Linked DNA regions of Homo sapiens: all the other regions are linked to region 1. Evidence: promoter capture Hi-C in 16 types of primary human blood cells and fetal thymus (Javierre and others, 2016). All regions are on one chromosome and are shown on one strand. Each heading gives the region's core, a stretch centred on a gene start or on the middle of the fragment in contact. The rest is flanking DNA. Distances are from core to core; before and after follow the strand shown. Region 1 holds the start of CMSS1 (cms1 ribosomal small subunit homolog). Region 2 holds the start of SENP7 (SUMO specific peptidase 7). Region 3 holds the start of CRYBG3 (crystallin beta-gamma domain containing 3).

Region 1 (3,540 bases), core at 306-2,805:
AACTTGAAAGTCACACAGCTAGTGAGGACTAGAACCAAGAATTGGGATCCCCTTCACCACTCAAACAGAATTCAACTATTTCTTAAATGGCCTCTGTTCATCTTCAATCATATCATAAAATAGAGCTTTTTAACACCTGAGTTGGGAGGGGTAGTTATTAAAGTAAATGTGGAACACCACAGGGCTGCAAAAGAGTCAGGAAGTTTAATCAAGGAAATGTTGTATTGGCTACCTTTCTAAAAATGACATCTGCTTAGTTTGTACCTGAAGGCTTGACCTTCCGGAAACAATGCAACAAATGAAGTTGGTTATTTTTAATGGATATTTCACAACTAGTATTTCAAGATTGTTTGCAGCAAATAGGTATCAAGTGTCTAACATGTGCAGGGCCCTGTGGATGACAGAAGTATGAATCTGACTTTGGCCCTGTCTTCTCTTGTAGAGAAAAGAGGCAGACCTTGAGGAGTGATAAAAACCAACCAACCAATAATTGCATGGTAGGTGTGATGGAACTTAAAAAGTTCAAGGCTAGCCTGACATGGGGGGTCACTTAACGCTACTCTACTTGGGGATGAAATGCCCACTGCATCAGGAGTTGGTAAACACAGCAGAGCATAGTAGAAACTATTCAAATTGTGTTAACTGAATTCTAGTATTGTTTCTGAAAGGAGCTAGCTTTGTGAACTTGTCAAGTTACTTGACATCTTTAGGTTATGTTTCTCATCTGTAAAATAAGTGAGTTCAAAGGATGATCTCTATTTAAGCCTCCTTCCAGTTCTACTATTCCAAATTCCATGATAATGATGATGACCACAAGAAATACAGTAACTTATATTTACCACACATTATATGTCAAGCACTATGCTAAAGTGCATTACTGTACTAACTTCACTTAATCTTCACAACTTTACGAAATGGACATTATTGTTATCATTATTTTACAGATGAGGAAAAGGAGGCTAAACAGTATCAGAATACTGGAGTCGTGATTTGAATGGAGGGAGTCTGAAGCAGCAACCCCTGCTTCTGACCTCAGTCTGAATTGAAAGCAGTTCATGGGTCACCCTTAACCATCATACAAAGTTGCCTCTCTTCACAAAAACTGTCTTATCCATTCTCAAGAAATAAGGAAAAGAGAAAGCTTGTGGAAAGGATCCTTCCTGGCTGGCAGACAGATCTGAGTTAATGTCACAGCTGTCTGTTTCACGTGTTAAAGAATCTCTTGCACCATTTTCCCCGAGATGCTTGCGCGCTCCCAAGGCGGTGCACACCCCTGCTGGGCAAACACCGCGATCGCCAGAAGCGACCAGGGCTGAGGCGCACGGAAGGGCTCCGGGAGAGGCCCCGTAGGAGCGCGGGCACAGAGTGGGTACCTGGGCTGCTGCCTGCTCCAGTCGGCTGGTTCTCCCACCACTCGTCTCCGAGATCGTCTGCCATTTCAGCTCAGGTCTCGACGTGGGCAGAACATCACGGGTAGGCGACCAGCTGCGGAGAATCACGTTGTCTCAAAGCCAGGCGGCCGGCGTAGCTACACGCGGAGCTCCCGCTAGACACTGTCGCCTCCGCCCCGCGGCGATGACGTCACACCTCTGCCCCGCCTCTCCGGCAGCCGCTCCCAGACTCGTCGCAGTTTCCACACAGGCGCCGACAGGCAGAAGCAGTTTGGAAACGCAACATAAATCCCCCCAAAGCTTAAAGACAAAAAGGAACATAAGACGAAAGGGATTGTCATCGTTTTTGATAATGCATTTTAAAAAATTTTGTTTACGTGTTACGTTTCCCGATAAGATTGTGTCGAAAGTGTGAGACACCATGTGAAGACGATTTTTCTCCGCTCAGTTTCAAAGAACTTGCGCAGCGGGAGAAGACCCAAACATGTGCGTGTGTTTTCGCTTGTGCGTCAGTGTTTCAGAGTTTATGTGTTTGTACAGTTTGCTCTTAGAAAACATGCGCAAGGATCCATGACCATGAATGTCGGGCCTTTGTGGTAAATGTAGTTCTGCTATTTATGCAATATGAGTAAAGAAAATGTAATTGGCCTGGAAAGGCTCGCCCACAGAAAGACGCAAGTGGCTCGAAGACCCGCAAGTTGTTTTCCTCATACTCCCTCGGTTGTGTGTCCCACCCCCTATTTGGGAAACGAAGTAATAAGGGAGTCCATTGCTTCGTAACTATAGGTAAGAGACCCGCAGTGCCTCTTGTCTCAGTCCCAACGTGATTTGGCAGGGAGGGACTAGGAAAACCCGCTGGGCGCCAAGTGCTGGGGCTAGCTGTGAAGTAATTGTGGACGGTATTTTTCAGGACATCAAACACAGACGTAAAAATTATACAAAATGTAGTAAAAGCACGCAACGTGCCTGGTACTATGCATGGAATAGTAAGATGAGTCCATTCAGATGTTAGCCTACAGTAGTGGAAATTCAATTTGTAGGAATAAAGGGCTAGACTTCTAATAGGATACATCCTCGGAAATGACAAGACAGGGAAACTTAATCTGATGAGGCTAGGATTAGCCATATGTGGAAAATTACCCCGTGTGCACCCAACTCATAGATGTTTTATAAATGCATTACTGCCTAGACTTTGTCCGCACACTCTAAATGCCCCAAAAGGGAAGATATTATGTATAAATATGGCAAATGTAAAATAATCTATAAAGATCAAAAGTAATATGGCTTTTGTGAAGAAATGTAGATGACGAGATTTTCGTGATTAATAGATTTTTGAAAAAGATAAGAAATGCCAGTGTGGAAGAGGAGTTGCTATGGCTAATAAACATGAAAAGAATTCAGTCTGATTATTAATCTGGGAAATACAAAAAAAACACCACAGCGAGACCGTTTTTCAGGCAATAAATCACAAAATTAAGAAGTATGGGCCGGGCGCGGTGGCTCAAGCCTGTAATCCCAACGCTTTGGGAGGCCGAGGTGGGTGAATCACCTGAGGTCAAGAATTCCAGACCAGCCTGGCCAAAATGGCGAAACCCATCTCTACTAAAAATACAAAAATTAGCCGGGCATGGTGGCAGGCGCCTGTAATTCCAGCTACTTGAGAGTCTGAGGTAGGCGAATTGCTTAAACCCGGGAAGTGGAGGTTGCGGTGAGCCGAGATGGTGCCATTACACTCCAGCCTGGTTGACAAAAGCGAAACTCGGTCTCAAAAAAAAAAAAAAAAAAAAAAAAAAGAAGTCTGGCAATACTAAATTATGGAGTGTCTATGCATTAATGGGAATTGATACCTGTTTTGTACCATGAACTATGAATGGTCTTACATTATATTCCACCTCGCCTCAGCCTCCCGAGTAGCTGGGACTACAGGCACATGCCACCATTCTTGGTTATTTTGTTGTTGTTTTTGTTTTTTGTAGATATGGCGTCTCATTTTGCTGCCCAGGCTGGTCTTTAACACCTGGCTTCAAGCAGTCCTCCCACTCCAGCCTGCCAAAGTGTTGGTATTAGAGGCCTAAGCCACTGTGTCCAGCCATTTTTTACATTTTTAAAGCATTGTAAGAAACAGAACAAAACAACAACGACAACAACA
Region 2 (3,857 bases), core at 1,195-3,694, 1.7 Mb before region 1:
AGAAAGCAATTATGCAGTTTTTTAGAAAAATAATAATGCCTGTATTACAATTCCATTTAGTAAATTGTAGAAAATAATAGTGGTTGTGAAATTATATCTGTAGAAATTTCAAAATAAGATGAAAGTACATAATGTCCCTCCTCACTGTTCACCTCTCCCTAGGGAACAAAAAAGTTGTATTTAATCCACCAGAGGCAAGGACACATAGAAAAAAGAATATTAGAGATAGGAAAAAGAAAAAAGCAGATGTCACTAAGTGTTGGTTTTACCAAATTGGAGTATGCAACAGAATCGTCTGGGAAGTTTATTTTTTATGTTTTTTGGAGACAGGGTATCTGTGTGTCGCCCAGGCCGCAGTACCGTGTAGCGATCATAGCTCACTGCAGCCTCAAAGTCCTGGACTCAAGTAATCCTTAAATCTCATCTTCCCCAGTAGCCGGGGACTATAGGTGTGCTCCACCGTGCCCGGGTCATTTTTTTTTTTTTTTCCGAGACAGTCTGGCTCTGTCGCCCAGGCTGGAATGCAGTGGCCTGATCAAGGCTCACTGCAACTTTTAACTCCATGGGCTTAAGTGATCTTCCTGCCTTAGCCTCTTGAGTACCTGGGACTACAGGCATGCGCCACCACGTGTGGCTAGTTTTTTTCTTTGTAGAGAGGAGGTCTCACTATATTGCCCAGGCTGGTATCAAACTCCTGGGCTCAAGGGTGAGTCATAGCATCTGGCCTGTATATTTTTGTGGAGAGGGGGGTCTTGCTTTGTTGCCCAGGATGGTCTGGAATGTCTTGGCTCAATCTATTCTGCCTCGGCCTCCCAAAGTGCTGGGATTACAGACGCGAGCCACTGTGTCCGGCCCAGCTTGACTTTAGAATCAGTTAAGTTCTTTAGTTAAAAAAGTTAATTTGGGCCAGGCGCAGTGGCTCACGCCTGTAATCCCAGCACTCTGGGAGGCTGAGGCGGGCGGATCACGAGGTCAGGAGATCGAGACCATGCTGGCTAACATGGTGAAACCCCATCTCTACTAAAAAATACAAAAAATTAGCCGGGCGTGGTGGCGGGCGCCTGTAGTCTCAGCTACTCGGGAGGCTGAGGCAGGAGAATGGCGTGAACCCAGGAGGTGAAGCTTGCAGCGAGCCGAGATTGTGCCACTGCACTCCAGCCTGGGCGACAGAGCGAGACTCCGTCTCAAAAAAAAAAAAAAGTTAATTTGTGAGGAAACTGAAAATTCAATTATTTTTCAGAAAGCAATGTTTTTGTTAAACAGAAATTAACCAAATAAAACGAAATCCTTACAGTAAACTTCAATCCCAGCAAGACTTAAAGTATTTCTGCTTTGCAGTCATTCCTGCCATGTAGAACACTTCCCCAGGCCCAACACCCCACAACACCTGGGGCCTTACCTCTACCTGGGGACTGACCACATTATAATTAAGAAGGCTTAACTCACGATGAAGGGGACTGCTCTAGTGGACGAGTTGGGCCGATCCCTTTATTGACTCCGTTAGGATGGGAGATGGGGGTTGGAGGGATAGGCGTTAGGGGTATAAAGGGGCCAGCTTGGGAATCAAACCCTACTTCCAGAGTCCCTTCGGGCTTTGAACATGCCAGAAACATTTTCCCTGCTTAGAGCACTGTGCTGAATTTTGTTAAACTTGTGATTAAATCGTCATGAAAGCTTACACGTGCATTTAAAAATTATTCAGATATGCACCATTAGGGATAATCAGGCTAATAGTACCAGACCTTGAGTTCATTGAGGACTGGATTAGTCCCTTAAGTATCGTGGTAAATGTTAATTGAACAAATTCCAAGTTTATAGCCACCCACTTTCTGTCATATCAGCATTTCAGTTATTGAAAAATTAAGTTCTAGCTTTTCTTTTAAGGAACTTTAAAAATCACAAGTTCGAATTTTAAAAAGGAATCCTAAGACATTTTTCCTCGTCTGCTGACATATTTCCACAGCAAATGCTAAACTAATAGCTAGGCTATTATTAGGTGATTTTGCCATCTTAAAATCTTTTGGTTTCTGAGTTCGAGGAAAGGCGTTGGGGGCAAATATGTAAGAGAGGCTGTGAGGGATGTAATACTGCAAACGCTAACGTTTTGTTTTCATAGTTGTTTGGCCACCTCGCGAGATCCAGTGAACCGGAGGAGTTCCTGTTTTTCCCTTTTAATTTTTGTCAATCTAATCTTCAAAGTCAACAAAGCTAAAATCGAGCACCCAGGTGGTTCACCTCCCCAGAGGGGCTCAGATCATGAAATAAACGCCACCAAAAAAACGCTGGAAGAGGCAGCCCACAGTGAAAAGTCCCAGGAAGTGATTTCCGGTCGAAGGTGGGAGGGGCGGCTGATTTCCGGTCGAAGGGCAGGCGACGGCTCTTGCGCAAGCGCGCTTCGCACTTTGCGGGCTTTTTTTTTTTTTTTTTTTTTTTTTTTTTTTTCCTTTCCCCTCCCCCTCCCTCTCCAAGCCGGAGGGGTCCTGAGGTGACAGCGCCTGCAACTGAAATTTCAGCAGCGGGAGAAGATGGACAAGAGAAAGCTCGGGCGACGGCCATCTTCATCCGGTGAGAAAGGGTCAGAGAAGGGCTGAACATATTGTCTCCTACCCGGGGGAAACGGGAGGCGCAGGCGGCAGCTGGGGTTGCGGCCCGAAGCCGCGGGGGCGAGGGCGGGGGCGGGGAGAGGAAGGGGCGCGCACAATGGAAGGCTCCCGGGTCGCCCCCGCCCCTGGAGTCGAAGACCCGGTCCGAGCTGTCATCGAAGCCTCGGGCGCTCTTCACCTCAAAACCCCTTTTATTTTTTCCCTCCTCCCGCGAACACCCTCCTTGCGTCTCATCGGCCCATGGATCTTCCCGGTTGGCTTGTCACTCTCTGCCACGCCTTCCTCGTAATTCCACCAATGTTCCAATTTCATTTCGGCTTCTCAGCGCCTGACCCCACTTTCCTCTCTTCCTTTGATTCTCGACTTTGCGTCCCTTCCCCTCTCCCTCCTCTTTCCCTCAGCAGGTAGCTGCTGCTGGGGAGGAAAGGTGGGGCTTGCGACCGGAGACTCCTTTTCTTTGATACAATGCCTCTCCGGGTCTCGTTCTGCTGAACAGGCCCGCCTAATAGCCTTTTTCTTTTCCAGCCTACCCTGCGTCTTCCAAAAGTGATTGGAAAGTCAAACAAAGGATTTGAAGCCGTGCTTTCGTTGTGTTTTTATTTTCAGCATATTTTTTGTTTTGGACGTTACTTTGTTTTAAATGACTATCTTCAGTTTTGTGTACAACGTCTTGGAAACAAGAAAGTGGAGTTATAAAAACGTGAGGTAGAGCTCCTCCCAGTTGAGAAGTTTTTATCAAACATTTCATCCATTAGGGGGTCCTCAAGTCCTTGTGTTAAGTCCTATGGATGGTAGGAGGAGAGGACGAGGACTCATATGCTTACAGTCCAGTACACAAACGAACGCCCAATGAATCAATTATTTCATTTCATTTTTCTGTTTCTGATGGTACCGTTGGTTTCTGCAGAGACAGTTAACAATTACAGATTTATTGGCCGGGCGCGGTGGCTCACGCCTGTAATGCCAACACCTTGGGAGGCCGAGGCGGTCGGATCACAAAGTCAGGAGATCGAGACCATCCTGGCTAACATTGTGAAACCCCGTCTCTACTAAAAAATGCAAAAAATTAGCCGGGCGTGGTGGCGGGCGCCTGTAGTCCCAGCTACTCAGGAGGCTGAGGCAGGAGAATGGCGTGAACCCGGGAGGCGGAGCTTGCAGTGAGCCGAGATCGCACCACTGCACTCCAGCCTGGGCAACAGAGCGAGACTCTGTATCAAACAACAACAACAACAAAAAAAAAACAAAAAAAACCAA
Region 3 (3,620 bases), core at 533-3,032, 2.0 Mb after region 1:
CTAACACTGACTCTCAAGTTCCCAACTTTTGCTGCGCCTACTTGGGATTTCCTTGCAGACTGCGTTCATATTATCCAAGACTGTTAGTGCTGTTACGGCGGTGGCAGGCACCACAGGCTGTCTGCCCACACCAACAGAACTAGCTGACACCCTGGATGAGATCTGTCAGACTTAAAAACTATTTTTAACTTCTGTGTAACTTTGAATTTTAAACTCTCAACAGTCAGAGCAATAATAGCTGAAACGTCCCAGGAGAATAACCACTCAATTATCGTAGGAGCTTTCTTGGAAACATGTGGCATGTTATTAACAGACGGTCATAATGAAAATGTTTCACAAGCGGGGAAACCGAGGAACACACAAACGACTAAAATCACATCACAAAATCTGAATACTAATGGAATTGGCTCACTCTCAGTTCTGTTTCCTATCCATTTTTTTTAAGCCCACCAGGAAATCTTGAGTCCGAAGTAAACACGGTTTTCTGGAGTGTGTCCTTCCAATGACAATGGTCATTCTAGTGCAATCTCGGGAGAAGACAGTGTAAGCCTCTCATAAGTTTAAGAAAGCGAGCTGCGTTTTACTTAACCCCTCTTTCTTCGGGGGGATGAAAAGACTCAGAAACAGGCATTTAAATGAGGCATGTCTAAAATTTTTTGATTTTTGAACATGGGAAAGTGAAGGAAAGATAAAAATATTACAGAGAAAGGGTACATTTTGATTACTGAAACCAAGACAGCTGGAAACCTGATTTCCAGAATCTGTTTGGGAACTTGAGGCAGATGTTTCTAGGAGAGATGAGAAATAAAGAAGGGTGGCGTCATTTACATGTCCAGTCCATTTTGGTGAAAGTCTTGGGAACGCATTATCACAATTCCTTTTAAAAATCATTTTGAGAAAATTTAAATAAGATGGCAAAAATACCAGCTGAGGGGGTGACGCCCCAAAGCTTTACCTTTTCCACTTTTGCCCCGATCTCCTCCCACACAAGTGGTGCTGGGATCGCGCCCCCAATTCCCCTGGCCGACGGCTCCGCTCGGCTCACAAGTGTTTCCCATTACTGCAGGCGGGACGCCGGGGAAATCGCTTTTGCCACAGAACTTGGAGAGTAGAGCGTGTGTGGAACGGGAACCCAATCACGTCCGGGCAGGGGAAAGTGGGAAAGGAAGAGCGCGGAGCCAGGCGGGGATCGGGGGATATGCGTCCGGCTGCCGGGCAAGAACTTCACCCCGATTTAACCTGCAGAGGAGAGGCGAGTAGTGCGGCACGGGAACGGGGCAAGGAGGAGGAAACTTTAGCAATGGAGGAAGGAGAACAGAAAGTGGCGAGCGAACTGCAGCCTGGCCCAAGAGCGGCCCGCTGCCGGCGGTCAGGCCGGGAGCCTTCATCCCGCGAATATGTGCAGGGCCCCCCCGCGACCCCCTCCTCGACTCCCACCTGGCAGCGGACCGGCCTGGAGCTGGAGGCGGGCTCGTCCCCGGCCTCTCCTCCTCTTCCTCTTCCTTGTCCCGGGAAGGACTTCGGGGAGCGAAGAACCGGGAGAAGCTGTGCCAGGGGGCGCTGCCCCTTCTGCGGCCGCTGGACATTTCCCGAGGGGGCCGCTGGCCCGGGGCTGTCTGAAGGGAACGGCCTAGGTGTTGCCTGGTGCCCGGAGCCCGACCGGGCGCCGCGGGATGCGGCTAGGGCAGACCGACTCGACGCGAGCTGCCAGCGCGGCTCAGTCTCTCTCGGGCAGGAGAAGTGCGGACGCGACGCGCTCCTCGCGCGGCAGCTCCTCACGCCGCTGCGGCTGCTCCTCCTCCCGCCCTCGCCCGGCGCGGCCCGCCCCACCCCGAGGAGGAGCCAGTGGCCGCGGCACCGCCCTGAGCCGGGCGCAGCCGCCACCGCTGGGGCGCTACGTGGTCCCCCGAAGGCGCCGGCCTGAGAGCCTGAGGGGAGTCGCCCAGCGTGCGACGCTAGGCTCGGGCTTACGGCTCAAACAAGTTCAGGCTGCAGCCTGTTGGGCTTTGCCTTCAATTACTTTCTGTGACCGTTGTGTTTTCTATTCTACAGTCAGAGCACAGAAACGGTTTTCTTCGGGCTTTTGAAAGAGGTTTATGAACTAAGGTTTGTGAAAACACTTGGCAAACTGCAGTACCGGGGCGCCCCGGACTTGCTGGGAGCTAAGAAACAGCTACCGCAAATACAGCTCCAACCCTGAGGGCGAAAGTCGCGTTAGCACAGAACCGGGCGGCGGGAGGGAGAAGGGGGTACCTGTCAGGCGGTCACCACCTCCCGGCGCGTTCTGCTGGCTTTCTGTGGTGTGACTTTTCCTAACCGCGCTGTGCTTCAGACTTTTCACACGCCATACTTCCCTGCGAACTCTTTCAAAAACGGCACTGATCAAAAAGTATGATTTCAAGCTTGTCAATGCTGCAACATATTTTGCAGTCGTTACACAGATGCCACTGAAATCTGGGAACCAAAGGGTGCTTAAGACTTGTTTTAAGTCTAAGTACAGTGGTATGGATTTTTCTTGGTTTTTCATACCCTATAGCAGCTAGTACAGGAGATACTGAGAGGCCCATTCACCCCAAGTGTTTTGTTTTTGTTTGAAGGCAAGCTGCCCCTGGAGTAGACGTCAAGGAAGTGATATGGCTTTTGTTCATTAAAAAATGTATACAAGTAAATGAGATAAAAATGAAATGTCCACAGCAGAGGGGAGCCTTGGAGTAATCTCCCCTCTGGCTTTCGGGTGCTGGAGGAGAAGGTTGCTCATAAGTAGATTGCATACCTATAAGCCCCAAGTCCTTTCAGCACCTGCTGGAGGCTATTGAGCCTCCCTGCCTCCCCACGCTGCCTCCCAGAAGCCCTCCAGCTCCTACTAACTGCAATAGAGCCAAGACACTCATTCTCATTTGTTCTGGCAGGATTTAACCCATTAAAGTTCAGTCAGCCCGATTTCCATCAATCGGGTTCATCTCAGTCTATCCCTCAAGATTAATCCTTTTTTACTCTTTGGTAAATTTTTCCTATTTCTCTGTGAGCCTAGTCTGAGAAAATAGAAAAAGACTAAGATAATAGACTAGAATAAGACAAGTTCCCAATTCTAGCTTTATTATTTTATAAGAGAATCTCCACTGAAGACCCACTTACCAAAAAGCCCAAAGAGAGTAATAAAGCAAACTGTTTCTTCCAGCTAAAAGGCCCAAATGATAATTTGTCTTCCCAACGTATTATTGAATGACTATCACATTTGTCCCTGACTTGTTCTGTGATCAAACCAGGCCCCAGTGCCTACCCAGAGGGTACTTCGTTCAGGAAGTTTTTCTTGGAATAAAAATGGGGGGGAGTCAATAGGATTTAATTAATGAATTATGGTTTTAACTAATAATATATCTAACAATACTCTGATCTCCACTCGGTAGCACAGCAAAGCACTTAAGTGAATGGTAAATACAAATAATGCCATGTTTACACTAAGACAAATTGCGTCTATGACAAAATAGCTTAAAGTCATAAAACAATGACCATTGAATTTTCCTTCATTTGCTTTCTGAGCACTTATTAGTTTTCTATATGTCCTACATTGTTATAACCTGAACTCATATGAACAAATTTCTAAATACTAAATTCTAAGA

The links. Contacts are between HindIII fragments. The CHiCAGO score rates a contact against its expected background, and 5 or more counts as called.
Region 2: a contact is called between the fragment with the promoter of SENP7 here and the fragment with the promoter of CMSS1 in region 1, in 3 of 17 cell types (total B cells, naive B cells and fetal thymus). The highest score is 8.2, in total B cells.
Region 3: the fragment with the promoter of CRYBG3 here is called in contact with the fragment with the promoter of CMSS1 in region 1 in 4 of 17 cell types (naive CD4 T cells, total CD8 T cells, activated CD4 T cells and 1 more); the score reaches 6.4 in naive CD4 T cells.

Annotation. Positions count from the first base shown.
Region 1 is chr3:99,815,877-99,819,416 of GRCh38, reverse strand. It overlaps CMSS1 (cms1 ribosomal small subunit homolog), which reads right to left and starts at 1,555. Exons shown (of 10, transcript NM_032359.4): 1 at 1,374-1,555. The coding sequence starts at 1,437. HP09053 (a long non-coding RNA gene) reads left to right here. Exons shown (of 3, transcript NR_110821.1): 2 at 443-497; 3 at 945-2,785. It overlaps LOC105374010 (a long non-coding RNA gene), which reads right to left and starts at 1,555. Exons shown (of 5, transcript NR_189163.1): 1 at 1,374-1,555. RefSeq lists enhancers at 1,289-1,598, 830-1,704 and a silencer at 1,120-1,874. The HindIII fragment of the contact is 550 bases long and covers 1,144-1,693 here.
Region 2 is chr3:101,511,799-101,515,655 of GRCh38, reverse strand. SENP7 (SUMO specific peptidase 7) reads left to right here and starts at 2,444. Exons shown (of 24, transcript NM_020654.5): 1 at 2,444-2,565. The coding sequence starts at 2,526. The HindIII fragment of the contact is 4,750 bases long and covers 1,677-3,857 here.
Region 3 is chr3:97,820,173-97,823,792 of GRCh38, reverse strand. CRYBG3 (crystallin beta-gamma domain containing 3) reads right to left here and starts at 1,782. Exons shown (of 22, transcript NM_153605.4): 1 at 1,438-1,782. The coding sequence starts at 1,586. It overlaps LOC101929298 (a long non-coding RNA gene), which reads left to right and starts at 2,017. Exons shown (of 3, transcript XR_427389.3): 1 at 2,017-2,106. RefSeq lists a silencer at 1,636-2,005. The HindIII fragment of the contact is 1,453 bases long and covers 952-2,404 here.